Linked DNA regions of Homo sapiens: region 1 is linked to region 2. Evidence: promoter capture Hi-C in 16 types of primary human blood cells and fetal thymus (Javierre and others, 2016). All regions are on one chromosome and are shown on one strand. Each heading gives the region's core, a stretch centred on a gene start or on the middle of the fragment in contact. The rest is flanking DNA. Distances are from core to core; before and after follow the strand shown. Region 1 has its middle 17 kb from the start of MAD2L1. Region 2 holds the start of NDNF (neuron derived neurotrophic factor).

What was found. Contacts are between HindIII fragments. The CHiCAGO score rates a contact against its expected background, and 5 or more counts as called.
Region 1: a contact is called between a fragment that was not itself captured here and the fragment with the promoter of NDNF in region 2, in 1 of 17 cell types (monocytes). The highest score is 5.3, in monocytes.

The regions. Positions count from the first base shown.
Region 1 is chr4:120,046,124-120,053,004 of GRCh38, forward strand. No RefSeq gene overlaps it. Among named protein-coding and RNA genes, the nearest start is that of MAD2L1, 17 kb to the right of the region's middle. RefSeq lists an enhancer at 3,576-3,955. The HindIII fragment of the contact is 3,886 bases long and covers 1,651-5,536 here.
Region 2 is chr4:121,070,859-121,077,564 of GRCh38, forward strand. NDNF (neuron derived neurotrophic factor) reads right to left here and starts at 1,677. Exons shown (of 4, transcript NM_024574.4): 1 at 1,135-1,677. It overlaps NDNF-AS1 (NDNF antisense RNA 1), which reads left to right and starts at 504. Exons shown (of 3, transcript NR_187407.1): 1 at 504-722; 2 at 2,892-3,006. The HindIII fragment of the contact is 1,993 bases long and covers 986-2,978 here.

The DNA.
Region 1 (6,881 bases), core at 2,344-4,843, 1.0 Mb before region 2:
AAAGTCAGCTTGTCCTGTGAAGATTGGAAGCCAGGCATTGACTTCTACTCTCTAGCTATGAAAGTCCTAGATGGCATGTTCTTACAATATAAAGGCTGTTTGATCTACATTGAAGAATTTGTTGTTTAGTGTGGCCACCATCTTCAGTGATCTCATTTAGATCTTCAGGATCACTTGATGCAGCTTTTATTTACACCAGCATTTGCTGCTTCATGTTGCCCTTTCATGTTATGGAGATGCTTCTTCACTTTAACCTCATCAACCAACCTCTGCTAGCTTCCAACTTCTTTTCTTCAGCTTCTTCACCTCTCTCAGGTTTAAGAGAATTGAAGAGAGTTAGGCCTTGCTCTGGAATAGGCTTTGGCTTAAGGGAATGCTGTGGCTGGTTTGATCTTCCATCCAGACCACTAGAACTTTCTCCATATTGGAATAAGGCTGTTTCGCTTTCTTATCATTCATGTGTTCACTAGATTAGCACTTTTACTGTCCTTTAAGAATCTTTACTCCGCATTCACAACTTGGCTAACTGTTGCAAGACTCTTCAGTCTTCCTGGCTTTTGACATGCTTTCCTCACTAAACTTAATCATTTGTACCTTTTGATTTAAAGTGAAAGACATGCAACACTTTCACTTGAACACTTAGAGGTGATTAAGTTCATCTTAAGTTCACAGGACACCAAAATAATCACAATAGTAACATCAGAGATCACTGATCACAAAAATGAATATCATCATAATGAAGAAGTGTGAAATATTGTGAGAATTGCCAAAATGTGACAGAGACACAAAGTGACTGTGTGTCGTTAGTAAAAAAAACACTGATAGATTTGCTCTATGCAGGGTTCCCACAAAGCTTTGATTTGTGAAAAATGCAGTATCTGTGTGTGTGATAAAACGCACAACAAAACAAGGTATGCCTGTATTAGTTTATGTTTTGGGGCACACAGTGTATACAAATATGATTTTAAGACATCAACCAAAAGGAGTAGGGACGAACCTGTAAGGGAGCACAGAGGTGGATGTTATTGAGGTGAAGCTGGTAAAAATTCCAATTAGATTGGCATAACTTTAGGATGTCAGATGTAATCCCCATGGTAGCCACAAAGAAAAATCGCTATAAAATATGTAAAAATGGAAATGAGAAAGAAATGTAAACGTTTTAATATAAAATATCAAGTGAACACAAAAGAAGACAGTAATGCAGAAAATTATTGACAAAAAACTACAAACCATATAGAAAACAAGTAGCAAACTGTTAGAAGTCCCTTTGTTGTTAGTAATTACTTTAAATGTAAATGCATTAAACACTCCAATTAAAGGATTGGCCAAATGGATTAAAAACCATAATCCAAATATATGTTACGTGCAGGAGGCTCACTTTATTTTTTTTTAATTTTGAAATTTTTTATGAGATATGGGATCTCACTATGTTGCCCAGGCTGGACTCGAACTCCTGGGCTCAAATGGTCCTCCTGCTTCAGCCTCCCGGGTTGCTATCACTACAGGCATATACTACTGCGCCTGACATTGAGATTCACTTTAGATCCAAAGGCACAAATAGATGGAATGTGAAAGAATGAAAAAAAGATGTTCCATGCAAACAGTAACCAGAAGCGAGAAGAGATGGCTATACAAATATTTTTTTAAAAAAGCTTTAAATCAGAAAAGACAAGAACAAGAGACAAAGGAGGAGACAAAGAAGGACATTGCACACTTAGAGGGTTCAACCCAGCAGAAGTTATAACAAGTATAAACATGCATGCATCTAAAAACAGTCAATTAAAATACATAAAGCAAAAACTGAAAATTGCATGGATAAATAATCAGTTCTACAATAATAGTTGGAGATTTTAATATCCCACTGTCAATAATGAATAGGACAACCAGACAAAAAATAGGTAGGAAATAGTGAACTTAAACAACACATGAATCAGCTATATCTATCAGACAAAATTATGATTACAAAAAGAAGCATGGTGGTTACCAGGGGCTGGAGGGAGGGGAGAATGAGGGGTTATTGTTTAATGGTAATAGCATTTCCATTTTACAAGATGAAAAAGGTTATGGAGATGGATGGTGGTGATGGTTGCCCAACATTATGAATGTATTTAATACTACTGATTGTACACTTAAAATAATATGATGGCAAATTTATGTTATGTAAAAAACAATTTAAAAAACTAGAAAAAAATGAGAAAAAAGCCAATAAAAATTATTCTTGTTATTTATTTTAATTTGATAGATGAGCTCTTAATAGAATAACAGTGACAGAGTCTGTGTCTCAGTCAGCTCAAGCCACCATAACCAAATCCCATAGACTGGGTTACTTAAACAACAAAAGTTTATTTCTCACAGAAAAAAATTATTTCTCACAGGAGGTTTAAAGTCCAAGATCAAGGTGCTGGCATTTTCAGTTTCTGGTAGGGGCTCTCTTTCTGGCTTGTAGACAGCCACTTTTTAACTATATTTTTACATGGCAGGGAGAGAGAGAGGTGAGGGCGTCAATATATGAATTTAGGGGGACACAATTCAGTCCATAGCAGTCTCTCATTTATTTCTTTAAACTGAATTTTCACCCTAAAAATCACATAGAAGAGATAGTACAAGGTGATGCTATGCCAGTAATACCAACATTTAAGCACATCACAAAGACAAAACTACACTATTTCCTCTTTCTCTCTTTCTCTCTCTTTCTCCCTCTCTCTCTTTCTCCCTCTTTCTTTTCTATTTTCTTAATTCTATTTTTTCTCTTAAAATTTTTAATCGATGATAAAATGTCTGTATAGAAAAGGAGGTTGTATACTGTTAAGAGCATGAGCTCTGGAATCAAACTACTACCTGGTTTTGAACCCCTGATCATTACTCACTACCTATGTGACACTGGGAAAACCAGTTATACTATTAAAGCCTCCATGTCCTCATCTGCAAGACAGAGATGATGATAAGTTACCTCATAGGGTTGTTATGAATTTTAAATAATACCATAGAAAACTTTCTATGGTACCCAACATAGCAATCTCTCAGCTAATGTCAATTATGCTTATGGGAAGACTTTACATTTCAAAATAGCAAGCAATATTACAGATATTCTTCCATGACCAAAGGGAAGGCAGAGAGAAAAGGTAGTAAAGTCAATCGAGCAACTACAGGTGGCCAAGCTCTTTGCCAGGTAGTTCATGTACATCATTTGCATTTCCTCGAAGTAGCCTTATGAGATAAGAATTTTCATTTTTACAGATGGAGAAACTGAGGCTCCATCAGTTAAGTAACCAAGAGCCACATACCGAACAATTCAGAGAGTCCAGTGTGTCTGATTCCAAAGTCACATGGTGTTTCCACAACGAAACATTGTTTCCTCCCAGATGTGTGTTGGCTCGGGGGGCAGGACTATATTTTAAAGCACATCGCATTTAGGCAGGCTCCTAAATTATTTAGCTGGCATGTACATGCGAATATCGTCATCATCCTTCAGCGTTTGTATTCGGTGCTCATACTCCACTCAATCTCTCCTCCCCAAAATGGCTGGTTCTGGAACCCCTAAGCACTTGGCAGCATGTTACCAACTCTCAGACAGGAAGTTTTCATTCTCTTCCACAGTTGATAGTCGATGCCTGAGACTTTAAGGAGCCACACCGCGGGCTTGAGAGACGCTGGGAGTCGCAGTCAGGACTGCGAAAGAACTCAAGTGATGATTCACCTCCTGAGGTCTACTTGCTCACATCTCTATGGCAGATACCGGGCTGCGAATTGTGGCTCCCTTTTGACTAAACCTTTTCACTCCCTGCTTAGCCTGGTCTCTATCCTGGGTCACTGCCACTGTGAGTAGTTTCGCTTCTAATTCTGGCCATCTGGACCTCTACTTCCCAGTTCCTGATTTTTGCCTCCACAAAGTGAAGGATGCCCAGGCCCTGAGAGCAAGCACGTACTCCACTGCCCTTTGCTGCCCTCTGCTGACCATAACTGGAAATGATGGTTACTCTTTCAGGCCCTGTCTCAAGGCAGGTACTACAGTGAGAAGAACGAAGCCTGGAACACAAAATTTTGAGGGTGAGCCCCCAAACTAACTAAATTAGATAAATAATATTTTAATGCAATAGTTTTAAAAGTCAAAATAACTGTAAAAAATACATGATGAACAAAATATGTAAATGTACCCTAAATCATACTCCTAGCTTCTGTGTACACAAGCCATGGCATCTGTCTTTTTATTAAAGGGAAAGTCCTAGTATCACAGTAGAAAACCATGCTACCAGTATTGATCACCTTTTTTCCATCATTCACATAGATTTTTAAAACTCACAAAATTTAGAAGAAATAAACAGCAAAAATGAGAACGTCCAAGTGGAGCAGATATACTAGGTGACTCCTGAAGAAAGTAGGTAATTAAGAGAACAGAAGAAAAATTGATCTTTCAACAAATATTAACATCTTCATAGTTAAGAAGCAAATGAATGGGTGGCTAGAATCAAGCACAGTAAAAAATGTTTATGTTTTATGTTTAATTTCTTGGATATTAAAGATATAGGCTAAATGAATAATTTCATAAGAAGGCTTGAAGATTGAGTTTATGGACTCCTTTTCTATCTTGTCACTTGGAACATTCATCGTTCAGTATTAATGAACTAGATTACATTTTCTCCCCTTAATAGGTAGACTCATGCTATTTGATCAATCAATAAGGGGTAATTCAATAATCAGGATAATGAAAATGCTATTTCAATTTGTAGAGTCAACAAATCAACGAAACTGGAAGACAATAATAACTATAAAAGAGAATCTAACTAGTATTAAAATTGATAATGGAAAAAACACAAAAGTCTGAATGTTAAGGTAGCAGAGAGATGTGGCCAGCAATGTCAGACACAAATTCTTGTACCTTCTATAGCAAGGAATCAACATACTAAAATTGATGTAACAAAATATAGAGCTTGAACATATTCTTTAAAATTATAAAGATAACCACCAGAAGAAAATAATATGACTAGAAAAACTCAGGAGTAGATGGATAAAGAAATACGAACTAAGTTTCTCATCTTTCAATAGATGTGACCTAAAGTTGAAAAACAACAACAAAAAAAATAGTAATATTAACATATGCTTAAAGGTATGGTGATAACCACTAACAGAACAAAACATGTTTGAAAATAAGGAGCTAGATTAGACGTGGGGAGTGGGGGAATGAAGACAGGTGGATAATTTACTCTTCACTTGGTACCATTCTGTACTGTTTGATTTTATTAACTTATGAGCATATTAATTTTACACTATAAAAGTTAAAAAAATGAAAACAAAACTTTCTGCAGCTGCAGCTCTTGGCACTATTTCTTTCCCCAGCTGCAGTCACTCTCCTCATACTCATGGTTAGGTCCAATTGAGACAGGAAGAAATTAAAGGGCAACAGAAAAAGTACCTGCCCTGAAGTTCAGGGTTTCTGGGGTCTTCTTTCAATTTACTGTGTTCTGTCTTTACAGGGGCCTAATTCTTTGGAATACTAACTTTTGACTATTTCAGTCCATCAGATCTAGAATCTCCTTAAAGCTTTGCTAAACTTTGACATCATTCTCTTATTTCTTGAGAAGAGTAAGCTTGACTCCCTGGCTCTTTCTGTGATCCTTGAGTTTTAACTTCTTTTTTTTTTTTTTTTAATTTTGACTATGGTTAACTATTGGTCAGCTGGGACCAACCTGACCTGCCCAGGTAGGAATGAAAAGCATATGGAATAGTGGTGACAATTACTATTATCTGAATAAATACAATATGATATATTATTAAGTTAAAATAGTGCTAAGGGAGTAGAGTGATGGTCACTACTCCATTCCTCATGTTTCCACAAAGGAGAGACTTCACGCTCCTAGAGAGAACGCACCTGAAGATATTTGGGAATAGAGGTTTAATCTAGACTAATCACAGTCTTGCACTGAAGTGCTAAAAGCATGAAATGCAAGACATGAAGAAATCAAAACATCTAAATTTTCTAAGAAGGAATAATGTCTCAAATGTCATTCACTGAGAAAGTAGGTAATATACATGGGGAGTTTGCCAGAAGCATTGCCACTACACCTACCACCACCACCACCACACACACACATACACACACACACACTAAACATGTGGAAGCATAATTGTTGATGGGCAGTTTCTGCTCAGTGTATATAGATTTACAGCCTGTGAACTCTTGACACTGGCACCGCTGGCTGGCCCTCCCTGGAACAGAAACCCAGCTGTTTTCAGGTCCTTCTGTCTACAACACAGGTACCATTAAGTTATCTGCCATGCTCTTTGGGTGGCGACAACCGTGTCAAAAAAGATTACACCATTCACTTAATTTGGGGACCATAATTTTGCTTGTAATAACTTACATAGTGGAGCCACAGTTTCTTTTGTGATTAGTTACCCCTTGGAGAGCTGAATTACTTAGAAATTTGAATTAATTTTGAAAAGACTGAAGAAGCTGTAACCATTCCTATGAAAGACGGCCCAGGTTATAGCTGAACTTATAGGAACCCAGAGATCAGTGTAAGACCCTCTGGCTGAGAATGAGCCAATTGTATAGAATTGGGAATGAAGGAATTTGACCTTAATTTCTATGGGCTTTTCATTTGCAAGGGAATTTAGTCTGGAGGGTTAAAAAATGAGAAGAGTTTCATATTGTTCAACTTTAGAATATTTTTATGTTGTTGATCTGGTCTTGGCATTCATGAATACATTCATGAATGTATACATGAATATAAAATGAATACATTCATTAATTCTGGACAACATGACTGAGCATAATCAGTAATAGGAAATAGAATGGGGAATACATTTTCTGCTTAGGGTGCTGCATGCAGTTCTGTCTGACTCATGTTGCTAGAGACTTTTGTTGGCAAAAAGCGAAATGC
Region 2 (6,706 bases), core at 427-2,926:
GGGGCCAGGAGGGGAACCGCAACTTGGCCGGAGGGACAGCTCAGAGACAGCGTAGAGGTGCCCGCGGCAAACTCCGAGGAGCTGATGCGGGGCGGGTCCGGGGAACTGCCGGGAGCTCTCACGCCTGGGCCTGGGATAGGGTGCGGGCAGAAAGGTGAACCGAGAGCGCACAATGCAACGAAACCGCACTCCAAATTCAGCAGTTTGCAAAGTGCCTCCAAGAAAACAGCTGGGACCTGCAATCACTCGTTCGGACTCCTAGGTTATCGGGGCCGCGGCGACTCCGCTCAGTTAGAAAGGTAGCGCGGGTGAGAGCGAACCCCAACTCACGCACAGACAGGACGAGGGCACGAAGCCGAGTCTCCTGGCTGGGGCCGTAGGGGGCGTCACCTCGGTGGCCGCTCTGCTCTCCGGAAGAAAGTATGAGCCGGTCCCAGGCCACCTCGCTCAGCCCAAGGAAGTTTCTATAACGATGCTCGCCTACCACGCAGAGGACAAATGAGGAGCCAGAGCGGTTGGGGGTCGGGCCAACCGAACTCCCGGCCCCGGCTGCGCAGCTCCCAGACGCCCACCAAGAACTCGTGCGCTGCCTGGACCTCTAGCTTTTCGCCCTACACGCAGACGCCCTCTGCAAAACCCCAGTCCCGCAGACTTTCCCTAGCGGCGGGCGGAGGGCATGAACCTGGAAAGGGAGGCAACAGCCCTCTTGGCAGGCGGGCAAAGTAAGTGTCCAGGCTAAGTCCGGGATAAAGGCTCCGCGGCTCCCCAGACCCCACTGCACCCCGAGCTCCCGGGTCCCAGGTCTTCCCCGCCCTTGCGCTGTCTGTCCACCTCCTCACATCTCTCCGGGCCGCCCAGCTTCGAAAGCAGCTAAATTAAAAACAAACAAACAAACAAACAACAACAACAATAAAAAAAAAAAAACGAGGGAAACCTGCTCCTGCCCCTCATGCCCTCAGCTCCTACGGATAGGGCGCCCTTGAGAAGCTTCTTGGGCCTTGAAGATTTGGGGGCGCGTGCCTCGAGCCCCCATCTCGGATGACCCTTCGGGCGTGAACGCTCCTTGTGCTAGGTCTCAGGGTGGCGGGCTAAGGCGTCGGGTCTCTGGGGCATTGCTTTCCTCTCCCCACTTACCTTAAAAAGATCTGTTTTTCGTAGGGAAAATAGAAAAAAATCCCTCCCCGTGGTGTGGTGTGCGAAATAGTCCACGTCCCCGGACCCTGCCAAGATGCTAAGCACCAATATCCAGGAACGAGAAGCCTGGAGGGCGGGGACGGAGGCAGATAAAAGAGAAAAATTCAATCCGCTGAAGTGTCCCAACTTTGCGGTCGGCACAGCAAACTTCAAAGGCGGGCGAGGGCGGGCGGCGCGCGGTCGCCGAAGTTGCTGCGAAGTGGAGTAGGGAGCCGCGCGGGGCTGGGGAATCCCGGGGCAGCGCCGAGAAGCGGCGGGAGGTCCTTTTAAACTGCAGGGAGCGTGCGGGGGCTGGGCGGCGGGAGGATGCCGCAGCGACCCGCGGGGCTGGCGCGGGCTTCGCCGGCCGCCGCTAGTCGCACAGGCGCCTGGCTGGAGCGCCGCGCGGGGTGCTGGGAGAGCCGGGCGCACGGGGCGGCAGCGGCCGTGGCGGGTGCGCTGCTCAGTTAGCTCCACTCTCTCGCGGCTGGAAGTGGGGAGTGTGTGTTCGCTCCCGAGTGTCACTGCTGAAGCCCGGAGTCTCTTCCCCTCCCAGCCCTAACCCCTCCCGCCTCACCGCTGCCCGCCCGCCCCCTCCCTCCTCTGCCCGTTGCCTCCCCCTCCGTCCCTCCTTCTCTCCCTCCCGCTGCGCGCCAGCGCGCACGCACACACACACACACACACACACACTCATACACATACACACACTCACACACAGACACCCTCTCCCTCCTTTTCTCTCTCCCTGTAGCCCTCCCTCCCTCTCTTTCTCTCACACACACACCACCCTGCTCAGCGACCCAGCGCTCCCCAAACAGGACCCTCGCGGGCGGCATCGCGAGGGACACGCTGCTGTCCTAACCTTAGCGCCACTCGGGGAGAATGAAGGAGGCCCACCGAGCCCCCGACAAAGCTGCAAAACCCAGGAGACGCGCACGCGGGACCATCACACTGTCAAGCAGACCGGGGTGCACAATAGAGGGAAACTCTGGGGTTGATCTGGGGGCAGGGAGGGGGACGTGTTAAATCCAGAAGGTTGGTGGTTGGAGGCGGAAAGCAGAGTGTGCAAACTGTGCATTCATGTCCCACTTTTCACCCGAACGCCTGCCTATCACAGCCTTCACTCAGGGAGCGCTTCCCCCTCGGCGCAGACCGAGCCTCCTCCGATTTGAAACTCAGCAGCTGTTTTAACAATTGAAAAAGCGGCCCTACAGGACCAGTGAAACGGAGCAGAGTGTGTGAAGCCATTAAGGCTGACTAGGTAATTATGATAAAAAGTTACCTAATTAGCAACCTGGCCTGGGCTTAGGAAAACCAAGAAAAAAAAAGTACCGAATGATTTGGTGATCTCATTTTTGCAACTGAGAACCTGATTTCCAGCAAACCTGGTTTTATATAAGTTCTAATAATATATAATTATTTATTAAGATATAGTGTCAGTATTGAAAACACTAGTTCTGTTATTGCCACAATGAAATTAAGGTAGGTAGGATGAAAATCAGCCTTATCCCGGTCATATTAAGAACTATGATCTTTTTTGCTAAACAGTTGGTCACAGAGGGTGGACCAATGCAGCTCCTAAAGTTTTGTGGTTCCTAGATGAAAACACTGCAGGAAATGGATTTATAAAACCGTTTACACGACATAAAATAGTTTTGTAAAATTTTTAAACACTGAAAAGGACATTTCAGATCACTGTGCAAGCATATTTTTTGCAGATGAGACAATGAGGTGAGAAAAGTCCTCATTGTATCTCCACTTAGGAGATACGATCTAGAGCAGATCCCTGGGTCATTCATTAACAAAGCTTACGAAGTCCCTGCTGTGTACCAGGTATGTCTTATGTGCTGAGATTTAGAGGTGATGGTGCTGCCTTTAAGGAACTCACCGCCTGGTGAGGAGACAGAGGCATAAATGAAAATGTGATTAGCACTATAATAAGTGCAGGTACCTGGTCCTGTGGAAGCATGGAAAAGGAAACAGCTAACTCCCCTTCAGAAGCTTCTCTTGGTAGAGATTTCAGTGTAGAGTTCTGAAAGACAAGGAAGAAATACAAGGCCAACAAGGATGTGGTGGAGGGGGGAGGGCATTCCACAAACAGAAGCAAGTGAAGAGGTTAGGAAAGTGTCAAAGTACATGGTGTGTCCTGGAAACTAGGAGACTAGGTGCGGCTAGACTGCAGGTGAAGTAAGCAAGGCCAAGCCACACAAGGCTCTCTGGGTGTAAGGAGCCAGAACTTGCCTGGAGGTGGTGAGTAGTTGGGAAACTGTTAAAGGTGTTAAGCTAGGACAGATTCTAAGGTTTGTAAGTATTATTAGATAATGTGTTTTAGAAGGTTTCCTCTGGTTTCACTGTGCAAGACAAATAGAAGAGAGATCACAGTGAGGTTATTTCCAGAGGAAAAATTAGGTCTGAACCAAGGCAGCAGAAATGCTGTTTGGGAGGTTAGGACAGCTCTAGAGATATTTAGGAAATAGAATAGACAAGGCTTAGTGATTGATTGGACATAGAGGGTAATGGAGAGAAGAGAGTCTAGACTGACTCCCAGTTTTCTGGCTGGTGCGCTAAGGCAGGGATGGTGCCACTAGCCAAGAGAAACACACAGAGAGGAGCAGTTTTAGGAGGAATGTAATGAGTTCTGTCTTAAACTTGTGGAGTTGGGGGTGCCTCTGTGACATCTGAGTGCCCTGCCATTTAGGCAGCCAAAAGGAAAGTTCCTAGGAGGGTAGACAGGAGCTGGAAGGATACATTCAGGTGTCTGGCAAGCATGGGGGAGGAGTAAGGCAGCCAGGAAGAGAAGACTTAGGATGGGACATGGCAGACACCAATGTCTTAGACATGGATGAAGGAAGAGGACCCTGCAAAAGAAAGGGATGAACACCAGAGAAGAAGGGCAACAGAGTAGGACCAATGAAGCCAAGGGAGGACAGGGCTAGTGACCAGGGTAGAAAGAGGCAGACAGATGGAGACAACTAGACTGAAAAGCTGCTGCTCTTATTTACAAAAAGTCTTGGTATTCTTGACCAATGCAATTTTAGTTTATGCTGCATGTATATGAGGATCACTTCCCTCTTTGGTACATTGGGGCAACACTATCTACCCCCATGCATTTCACAGGGTTGATTGGGAATTCAAATGAACCAGTGATTGGGGTATTGATTTAAAATTGCCATTAGGAAGAAACTGAGTGCTAATGATGTTAGAGAGACATCATTAATTCAGGCAATTAATGACAGACCTGAGTCTGTAGGAAAGTTCTGTAAGGACTCTGTGAATTTCATAAAATTCATCAAAATATCTGTGTTTTGAACATCAGGATTTGCATATATCAGTATACTCTGTCTTCTAAAAAAACAAGCCACCGATAAAACCAGTGGCATTGTATATATTTATATTTATATATATATGTAAGTTATCTTCAGTGTTTTGAGAGACTTGGGTAATGTGCCATATTAGATAGAACATATGTTATTTAGCCAAACAGGCTTATATTTAATTCTAGACTCTGAAAATTATTTGCTGTAGGACAAAACCTCTTTGAGCATCAGTGGCTTTTTTCAAATATAAAAATGGAATAAATTATAGTTGACTTACAGATGTTTTGTGAGGATTGGATAGTATAACATATTCAAGTGTTTGCAAGATATTTACATATTTATATCTGCATTTACTTTTAAACCAGGCAATTCTTAAATATGCAATTGGAGGAAAAAGCCAAAAACTATTATAAAACCAAGAGTGAATTTAAGTCTATTTAGGAGAACTACTGGTTGAAACCTATGTTTTAAGGCAGCAGTCATCAAACTGGGGTTCGTAGACCCATGGGGGTTTCTGAGATCCTTTCAGGGGAGGTCTGCAAGGACAAAGCTAGTTTCATATTAATTCTAAGACATAATTTGCCTTCTTTGACTGTGTTGACATTTGCACTGATGATACGAAAGCAATGGTGGGTAAACCTGCTAGCACCTTAGCATGTTCAAAGCAGTGGCACCCAACTATCCTGGTAGTTATTGTATTTTTTACTGCCCCAAATATGAGTTTCGCTTAAGAATGTCTTTGATGAAGCAGTAAAAAATACTTATTTTATTAAATTTCAACTCTTGACTATGTCTTTTTAATATTCCGTATGGCAAACTGGGAGGCACAAATAAAGCTCTTCTGTGGCATACTAAAGTGCAGTTGTTTATCCTGAACGAAGACATTTATGTAATTGATTTGTGAGCTAAACTACCTGCTTTTTTATGTGACATATTTTTACTTGAAAGAACAACTGACAGACAAACTATGGTTACTCAGACTTGGATACTTAGCAAACACTTTTTTAAAAAAATTTTTTAACAAATGAATGAAGTCAGCCTGTCATTTCAAGGCAAACAAACAGCAATATTTATTTCCAGTGAAAAACTTGAACTTTTGAGTAAAAAATTAGAATTTTTAAAACTTGTTTTTGTCACCATGAGCTTGACAGTTTCCCAGTACTTAAAGTCTTTCCTAGTAAGATCGTGATCATTTAAATGAATGTGGTTTTAGATATCGTACAATGACATATATCAACATTTGGAAGAACTGCATAGCTCAATGAACAAGTATTTTCCAAATGACTAATAATGCATCATGATCTAAAATCACGCATAAGGATCCATTCAAAATGCAAAATAGACGAACGGGTTTTAATGTAACACAGTATGAAAAGTTAACTGATATGGTTTCATATTCCATACTGCAATTATAAGGTTTAAGAAACTACCATTTGTTGAGTTATGGTGTCACGTTAAAGAAGAATATCCAGAATTGTTTGAAAAGATTATTGAAATGTTTCTTCATTTTCCAACTACATATCTGTGAAAAATTGGATTTTCCTTTGTTTGAAGATATACTTCAAACAAAATAAATTGCAACAGATTGAAAACAGACATGATATGAGAATTCAACTGTCTTTTATTAAGCCAGACATTAAAGAGATTAACAAAAATGTAAAACATTTCTTTGGAAAATAATGTTACTTTAATGTGCAGTAGGTTTACTATAGTTATTTAAATGAATTAATAAATATTTTAAAGATTTCTGTTGTAATTCATAGGTTGACTATTGAAAGAAATAACCTATATAACAAAAACTCCTTGGGGTCCACAATAATTTTCAGACTGTCAAGTGGCCCTAAGAACGACTGTCATATGAACTAGGCTCACTCATGAAAGAAGGTTGAAAGATCATCAGAAGCTTATGATAATATTCTGCCCATGGATTGGCCATCACCTCAGTTGTATTGTATAATACAATTCTCATTTTACACAAATGTAAATAGATCCTTCTATACATAAACTTCTAGAGTGTTATAGTCGACATCTCTACATTGGGGGCTGGGACAACAGAACCGATAGAAACCATCCTGCAAATCTTGAAGCTTGGATAAAACAGTATCACATCCCGGATCATACTAGCACCAGATAGTCTTTTGTCTGTTGGTTCAGTTTCAGTCTCTTCTTTAAACAGTTCAAGAAGTAGTTCTCTAAAGTCTCTTAAAAATTAATGA